2 separate regions of the Homo sapiens genome follow, and region 1 is linked to region 2. Evidence: promoter capture Hi-C in 16 types of primary human blood cells and fetal thymus (Javierre and others, 2016). All regions are on one chromosome and are shown on one strand. Each heading gives the region's core, a stretch centred on a gene start or on the middle of the fragment in contact. The rest is flanking DNA. Distances are from core to core; before and after follow the strand shown.

What was found. Contacts are between HindIII fragments. The CHiCAGO score rates a contact against its expected background, and 5 or more counts as called.
Region 1: a fragment that was not itself captured here is called in contact with the fragment with the promoter of SBK1 in region 2 in 1 of 17 cell types (M1 macrophages); the score reaches 5.7 in M1 macrophages.

What each region holds. Positions count from the first base shown.
Region 1 is chr16:27,636,081-27,639,639 of GRCh38, forward strand. The region is part of intron 5 of KATNIP (katanin interacting protein); the gene reads left to right. Among named protein-coding and RNA genes, the nearest start is that of KATNIP, 88 kb to the left of the region's middle. RefSeq lists an enhancer at 740-1,240. The HindIII fragment of the contact is 4,214 bases long and covers 1-3,559 here.
Region 2 is chr16:28,290,871-28,294,231 of GRCh38, forward strand. It overlaps SBK1 (SH3 domain binding kinase 1), which reads left to right and starts at 1,655. Exons shown (of 4, transcript NM_001024401.3): 1 at 1,655-2,430. LOC124903670 (a long non-coding RNA gene) reads right to left here and starts at 1,195. Exons shown (of 2, transcript XR_007065033.1): 1 at 897-1,195. RefSeq lists silencers at 1,147-1,318, 1,526-1,755. The HindIII fragment of the contact is 5,383 bases long and covers 676-3,361 here.

The DNA.
Region 1 (3,559 bases), core at 601-3,100, 650 kb before region 2:
GAGTTCAAGGGTGCAGTGAGCCATGACCGCACCACTGCACTCTAGCCTGGGGGACAGAGCAAGACCCTATCTCAAAATCAAAAATCTAGATCTCTTCTTCCCTGGAAAAAATGGAAAAGTCTGGCCCCCACGCTGGGCCATCCTCCTCCCCACTAGGCAGCCAGCAGCAGGAGCCAAGTCCAGCTACTGCCTTTGGATAGGGCATGAGCTTTCCTGTTTGCCAAAGTCCCCACCACTCCCCAGAGCTTCAGTGGTGAGGCTGAGTGGTAGCTGTGGTTTATTATCAGATTTAGGCTATGATTTCTCTTATCTCGTGTTTCCATTTCCCGTCTGGTTCTTTGGGGCATTTGAATTTGTAGCCCCTGGAGAGTGGAAGGAGTAGGCTTTGGACTGCTCACTGGCTGTGTGTCCTGGAGCTGGCTGTGTAACCTCTCTGAGCTATGTACGTGTAACCTCTGTGAGCTGTGTGCCCTGGAGCTGGCTGTGTAACCTCTCTGAGCTGTGTGCCCTGGAGCTCTCTGTGTAACCTCTCTGAGCTGTGTGTCTTGGAGCTGGCCATGTGACCTCTCTGAGCTGTGTGCCCCAGAGCTGGCTGAGTAACCTCTCTGAGCTGTGTGTCTCGGAGCTGGCTGTGTAGCCTCTCTGAGCTGTGCACCCCAGACCTGGCCATGTAACCTCTGTGAGCTGTGTGCTCTGGAGCTGGCCGTGTAACCACTCTGAGCTTTGGTTTCATCATCAATGAAACCTCCCAGGGCTGCTGGAGGGGAGCATGTGCAGCGTGCATTACAGGTGGTCTCAGCAGGGGCTGCCTGCTGCTTCAGGTGGGAACAGGTGACAGACAAGTCCAGAGGAATGGCTAAGAGCATAGACCCTGGAACCTTCCAGCAGCCCCAGTGCAAAGCCTTGGCTCCGCCTCCTGCCAGCTGCACAGTGGCTAAGACGCTTAACCCCTTGGTGCCTGCGCTCTCATTTGTCATGTGAGGTTGGTAATGGTAATTAATGAGGGCAATTAATGAGGATCAGTGGGGTCTGTGTTTGGAGAGAAGCTGAAGCAGTGCCTGGCACAGGAGAAATAGTGAATGGTGCTGCCTGTTGTTGTTTTAATCACAGAGGGGCAGATGGGGAGGGCAGCTCAGCCTGGAGGCCTCAGGGCTCTTCACTCTAGTATGTTCCTTTGCTCACTCATACTTTACTTCTTTCATTCCGTGCTCATGTATTGAGCACATACTCAGTTTTGGCACTTACAGATGCCGGGTTCCAAGCAATAAGTGAGGCCAGCCCTGCTCTCCTGGAGCTCATGTTGATGGGGAGCGGGTGGGGAGGTTGGGAAGGCAAAGGACCAAAGGCAAGCAAGGGAGTCGGAAGACAGTGCTACGAAGGAAGGACAGAGGACAGCAGCCTGAAAGAGAAGCTGTCGGGGGAGCGCTCCTTCAGCGAAGGTGGGCAGCACAGCCTCCCAAGGGGCCGCATCGCAGCCAGGGCCTGAGAGTTACCTGGAGCCAGCCCCGGAAAGATCTGTGGCTGGGGGAGGCTTTCAGGTGAGGGGACAGTGAGAGCAGCGGGCACTGGGCACAGGCTGAGAGGAGGCAGGGCGATCAGGACAGGGTGGCAGAAAGGGTGGGGATGAGGGTGTCAGGGTTGCAAGTAGGAAGAACCGGCCATGCAGGGCCTAGAAGACCACAGGAGGAAGTTTGGATTTCAATCTAAATGTGAGAATTTCCAAGAGGGTTGAAACAGTAGAGCGCCACGTTTGGGTTCATATTTTGGGTTCATGTGTGCAGAAAGGACCGCCCATGGGAGCAAGGGGCTACAGGAGGACCAGGAAGCCTTTGAAGCAGGGCTACGTCTCTCTCCACCAACCTTCCCCAGCCCCCGTCCTTGCACTTCTGTTCCCTGTCCCTGAGCTGCCGCCAACTCGTAGCTTCAGTGTTCCCCTGATCCATCGTGCCTTCTCCACACACGGTTTTACACTCCCTCCATATTTGTTAGTTGAAAGTTTCCAAGACAGAGACAGTCTGAATCTCTCAGCTCATCCCTTTCTCAGGGCATGGCCTGGGCTGCTGCTGCTTAGCCTGGATGAGGCACCCCCTCCTACCTCCATCGGCTATGACTAGAGCCCCTCAGAGACCAGTTCATTTGGTGCAAACCCTGCCTGCCCTGGCCACATGAGCAGGAACCATGAGTCCTATAGCTTCTTGTCAAGAAGGCTGGAGGTAGCAGAGTGAATAGACTGGGGGTGCCAGCTATACCATTATTACCGTCATGAGGAAGACAGGCTGGATTGGTTTGCTCTGGCTCCAAGAAGTGGAGTTAAGTCCAAAGTTTCTCCATGGTAGACAGTCCATGGAGACAGAGTCTTGGGTCCATGGGATGGAGAGGAAGACAATCTTTCTATCCTAACCCTTTTGGATGGGCTCCTGCCATGCTTAGGGGCAGCCAAGGTAGGCAGAGTGGTCAAGGCAGCCAAGTCCCCAGTGGCCAGTGGCCAGTTCTCAAAAGCTGCTCCACCAAGAGAGGGACCACAGTCCTCTCCCGGTCTTGGGGTTTCACTTGTAGGGCCATGCCAACCAGGAGGTATCAGTGGGGCCACACGGTCGCCTTGTGTATTCACATTGGTCAGCAGGGGACACCGTGGTGGGATGCAGTGGTCCCAGTGCACAGTGAGCACCTGCAGTCCCAGCCTTATTCACAGTCCACACAGCCCCCTTGCCTCCCCATTCACCCTCTGTACTCTCCTCCTGGCTGTCTTGCTGGATTTTTTTTTTTTTTTTTTTTTGAGACAGGTTCTTGCTATGTAGCCCACACTGGTCTTGAACTCCCGGGCTCATGCGATCCACCCACCTTGGCCTCCTAAAGTGCTGGGATTAACAGACGTGAGCCACTGCGCCCAGCCCTGAAACTCTCTTGAATCACACACCCTGTTTCTACTGACCAAGCCCAATCCATTCACCGCCTCCAGGAGAACAGGTTTCTCTTCTTACGGTCTCACCCAACAATAAGAAAGCACATTTGGGTAGAGCTGCCCTGACAGGAGGGGCTGCGTCAGGTACACTGGCCTCCAGATCCCTTGACCAGAAGGTCACAGAGTCATCCCAACTCTGGCTCCTGGCCAAGAAGCCGATGACTTCCACCTGTAAAACCCTTCCCAAGCCCCTCAGATTCCTGGGGGTTTGGGGAGGATCATGGCGATGGCTGTGTTGGGCTCCCGAGCTGCCACCTTCCCTGTGGAATGGGCTGGTGGTGATGTATGGCCTCTTGTTCATACTGTCCTTTTCCCCCCACCACTTCTGGGCCTTAGATCTTTATGCTGCTATCTGTGGATTAAGATTTATGGCTTCCTCAGCCTTGTAATACTTGGGTGGACAGCGGCCTAATCAACAGAGCCGTCGTTTACCAAAATGCTGTCAGATTTGATGAACGTCATCGGCTCTTAGCATTAAATTGCTAGTGAAGGGATTGGCCTTCCAGCAATTTACTGTGGGGTGGGCGTTCCTTAAAGGTCTCTAAAGCAAGTTCATTGCAATTATTAAAGCAGAGGCTTTGCTCTCACTCAGCCACC
Region 2 (3,361 bases), core at 405-2,904:
CCCATTCAATATTTCCGAATTTTGGGAATTCGTTTCAAACATTTAAAAGTTGGAAGATTTCTGGATGTCCTGCTTCTCTTTGAATATCATCCAGCCACGCACAGCCCACGATGTCTCCAGTTCCCCTCTTCTCCACCCTCTCTATCACTTTACATGCGACCCCAGTCGCTCATGTCTGCGCCTGTAGGTACTTGCGTTTGCAATCCCTGGCTCCTAAAGCTCTGGAAACAGTCGGGAGTGGCTGGGAGGATTACGCTGGGTTGAGAAAACAGCCTGATCAAAAACTTAGAAGAAATAGGGGCAGTCATAAAAAATGATGAGTTCATGTCCTTTGTAGGGACATGGATGAAGCTGGAAACCATCATTCTCAGCAAACTATCGCAAGGACAAAAAACCAAACACCGCATGTTCTCACTCATAGGTGGGAATTGAACAAAGAGAACACATGGACACAGGAAGGGGAACATCACACACCAGGGACTGTTGTGGGGTGGGGGGAAGGGGGAGGGATAGCATTAGGAGATATACCTAATGCTAAATGACGAGTTAATGGGTGCAGCACACCAACATGGCACACGTATACATACGTAACAAACCTGCATGTTGTGCATATGTACCCTAAAACTTAAAGTATAATAATAATTAAAAAAAAGAATGAAAAAGAAATGCTTTTGAAGCTTGAAGCTAAAAAAACAAAAAAAAAAGAAAGAAATAGGGAAGGCGTCCTATTGGGGCTTTCTCACTAGGGAAAGAGTGAGCTGCAGGGAGGAGAAAGAACAGGGCCTGGAAGGACGAGCTGTCCCTATCTCATCTCTGTCCCCATCCACCCACTTCATCCAGGCCACCAATTTCCGGTTATCAAACAGACAATGCAACATCCCTTACACCTGCTGTACCTCTGCCTAGAATCTCCTTTCTTCCCTTCTATCCGGCGAGCAGTTCCTCCCAGCTGCACTCCTGGACTAGTCACTGCCTATTTGCAGCAGGGATCGCAAAGGCGACCTCAGTTGGATAGGGCAACCACCCAGGCCCAAGTTTATGACCTCTTCCCCAAGAAGACTGTGAGTTCTCTGACGTCTCGCTGGAAATAGGATGCATGGATGGATGGATGGATGGATGGACGGACGGATGGATGGATGGATGGAAGCGCAGGCAGGCAGGCGGACGCATGGATGAATGAAATGCATATCCGAATGCAGAACCTGGATTTGTTTTCCCTCCTTCAAACACACACAGGCTCCGCCCCACTAGCACAGACCGGGACAGTCTGGGGCAGTCTCGTCCCGCAGGGCCCAGAAAGCTGGACCAGGTGACCCTCTCAGACTCCCCCGAGTCCTCTGTAACCTCGTTCTCGCCCCCTCGTGGGCTCTGACCTAGAAAAGGAGTGGGGTGGGTGGGGGGTGGGGGGTGGGAGCCAGCTCGGGAGCCACCGGCGCTAGGACCCAGCGCGGCCGGAAGGGGGTGGGGGCGCCGCGCGGGGAGAATCTGCGCTCCGCGGCGCGCGGCGGGAGGGCGGGCGCGCGGCGGGTGAGCGCGCTTGCGCGAGGGCGCGCGCCGAGCGGGACGGACAAAGGGGCGGGCGGCGGCGCGCGAGCCGGAGGGCGGAGCCGCGGGCCGGGCGGGCAGGTGCGCGCTGGCTGGAGGGCGGAGCCGCGATGCCGCGATGGAGCGCAGCCCGGGCGGGCGCCGGGGCCGGGGCCCGAGCGCCAGGCGGAGCGCGAGCTGGAGCCGCAGCCGGAGCCCGGGCCAGGCCGGGGGCCGGGAGCGCAGGGCCGGGCTGCTCGTAGCGGCGGCGACCGAGCCCCCCAGCGGCTGAGGGGCTTCCAGCGCCCGCCGGTGGCCGGGACCCACTAAAGCCCCCGCAGCCGAGGAGTGCGGGGAGCCCCCTTCCACATCCAGGATCCGGCGAGCCTCGGGGAAGAGGGGGGGCCCTCCCGGATCCGACACCGAGCGACTCCCCTGCGGGGAAAGCGGAGACTTCCTCGGTATTTAGAAGACAGCAAGCCCCCTACGGCACCGCAAGGACTCCCCCTCCTCAGTCTGGGCCCCCGCCCCAAGACCTAGAACGCAGTGCCCCCAGGCCGGGATTGCGAGAACCCCCTCCCAAGATCCGGTCATTACAACTCCACACCTCAAGACAAGAAGACCCAGCTCAGAACGCCCCTAGATCAGGGGATCCCAATTCCCCCCAACTCCGGTACATAGAAATCCCAAATCTAGGCAGCCGGGGACAGCAAGAGACACTCTCACCAGCAAGAAGCCTCGGGGATCCCCCCCCTAAAGCTCCAGGACTTGGGCGACTGAGCCCCTGGCGGCACCGCTTGCACCCCGGTCCATGGTCGTGGCGCCCTGAGCCCCCGGGGCCGGGCAGACGAAGACCGCGACGGCGCCCAGGCCCCCTGCCGCGGCGTCCCCGCGGCCCCAGCCCAGGTAAGCCGGGCCCAGGTGAGGGGCGGCAGGTGAGTGGCCACCGAGGTCCCCATAGCCCTGCAGGTGGGGAAGGAAGTATCGGGTTGCGCGCTCCCCCTTCCCCAGCGTCGCCATGGAGCCGAGGCTGAAGGACGTCTCTTTGTGTCTCGCTTGGAGGAGCCGCCCCCTCCTCCTCTCCCTTCCCCCACCCCACTCCCTAGCCTTGAGGCTCGGGCGCAGCTCCCCGGCCCCACGGAGGAGTGGTGGTGGAGCCCGTTGTGCCATGGAGAGGGGGGAAGAGGGCGGAGAGTCCCCCCCCAAAAGCTGCGAGCCTGGAGGTTGGCCCCCAGGTCCTTGGAGTGTGAATACCCCTCCCCCACGGCCAAGCTGAGCTTCTAGTGAAGTCCCCCCGAGAGGGGAAAATTTGGGGGTGCCCACAGGTGAGGGGGGCTGCCTTATGTGGCCCTGGGTGATGGCTGGGGCTTCGGGTGTGTGTCTTTGTCTGTGAGAGTGCGGGGAAGGGGTGTGTTTGAGCGGATGAATGGGAATCGCATCTTCCCTGTGACTCTGCTGCCCGACCCAGGCCACACTGGCGGTCTTTACCTAAACCATACTTTGTACTCCCTGTGGGACAGGGAGGGAGTAAGTACCCCCCAAAGTGAGGCGCTAGTTTCTGGGGAGGAGAGGTAGCCTAGATGAAGAAGCTATTTCAGGTCAGGGCACCGTTCTGTTCCCATTTGTCCCAGGGACAGCAACCCAAGTCTTTCCCTTCCCCTCCTAACCTGGAGAACACCCAGGTTAAACCAAGGGTTGGCTCAATGTGTCCCAGACAACCAAGGGCCAATTCCAGGGTCTCACTGTGGCTTTCCAGGTGGTACACACGGCCGTACCCCAGCCTGGCCCTCAGTGAGGTCCTGAACCCCAGGCTCTACCGCATATGAGGAAGCCGAGA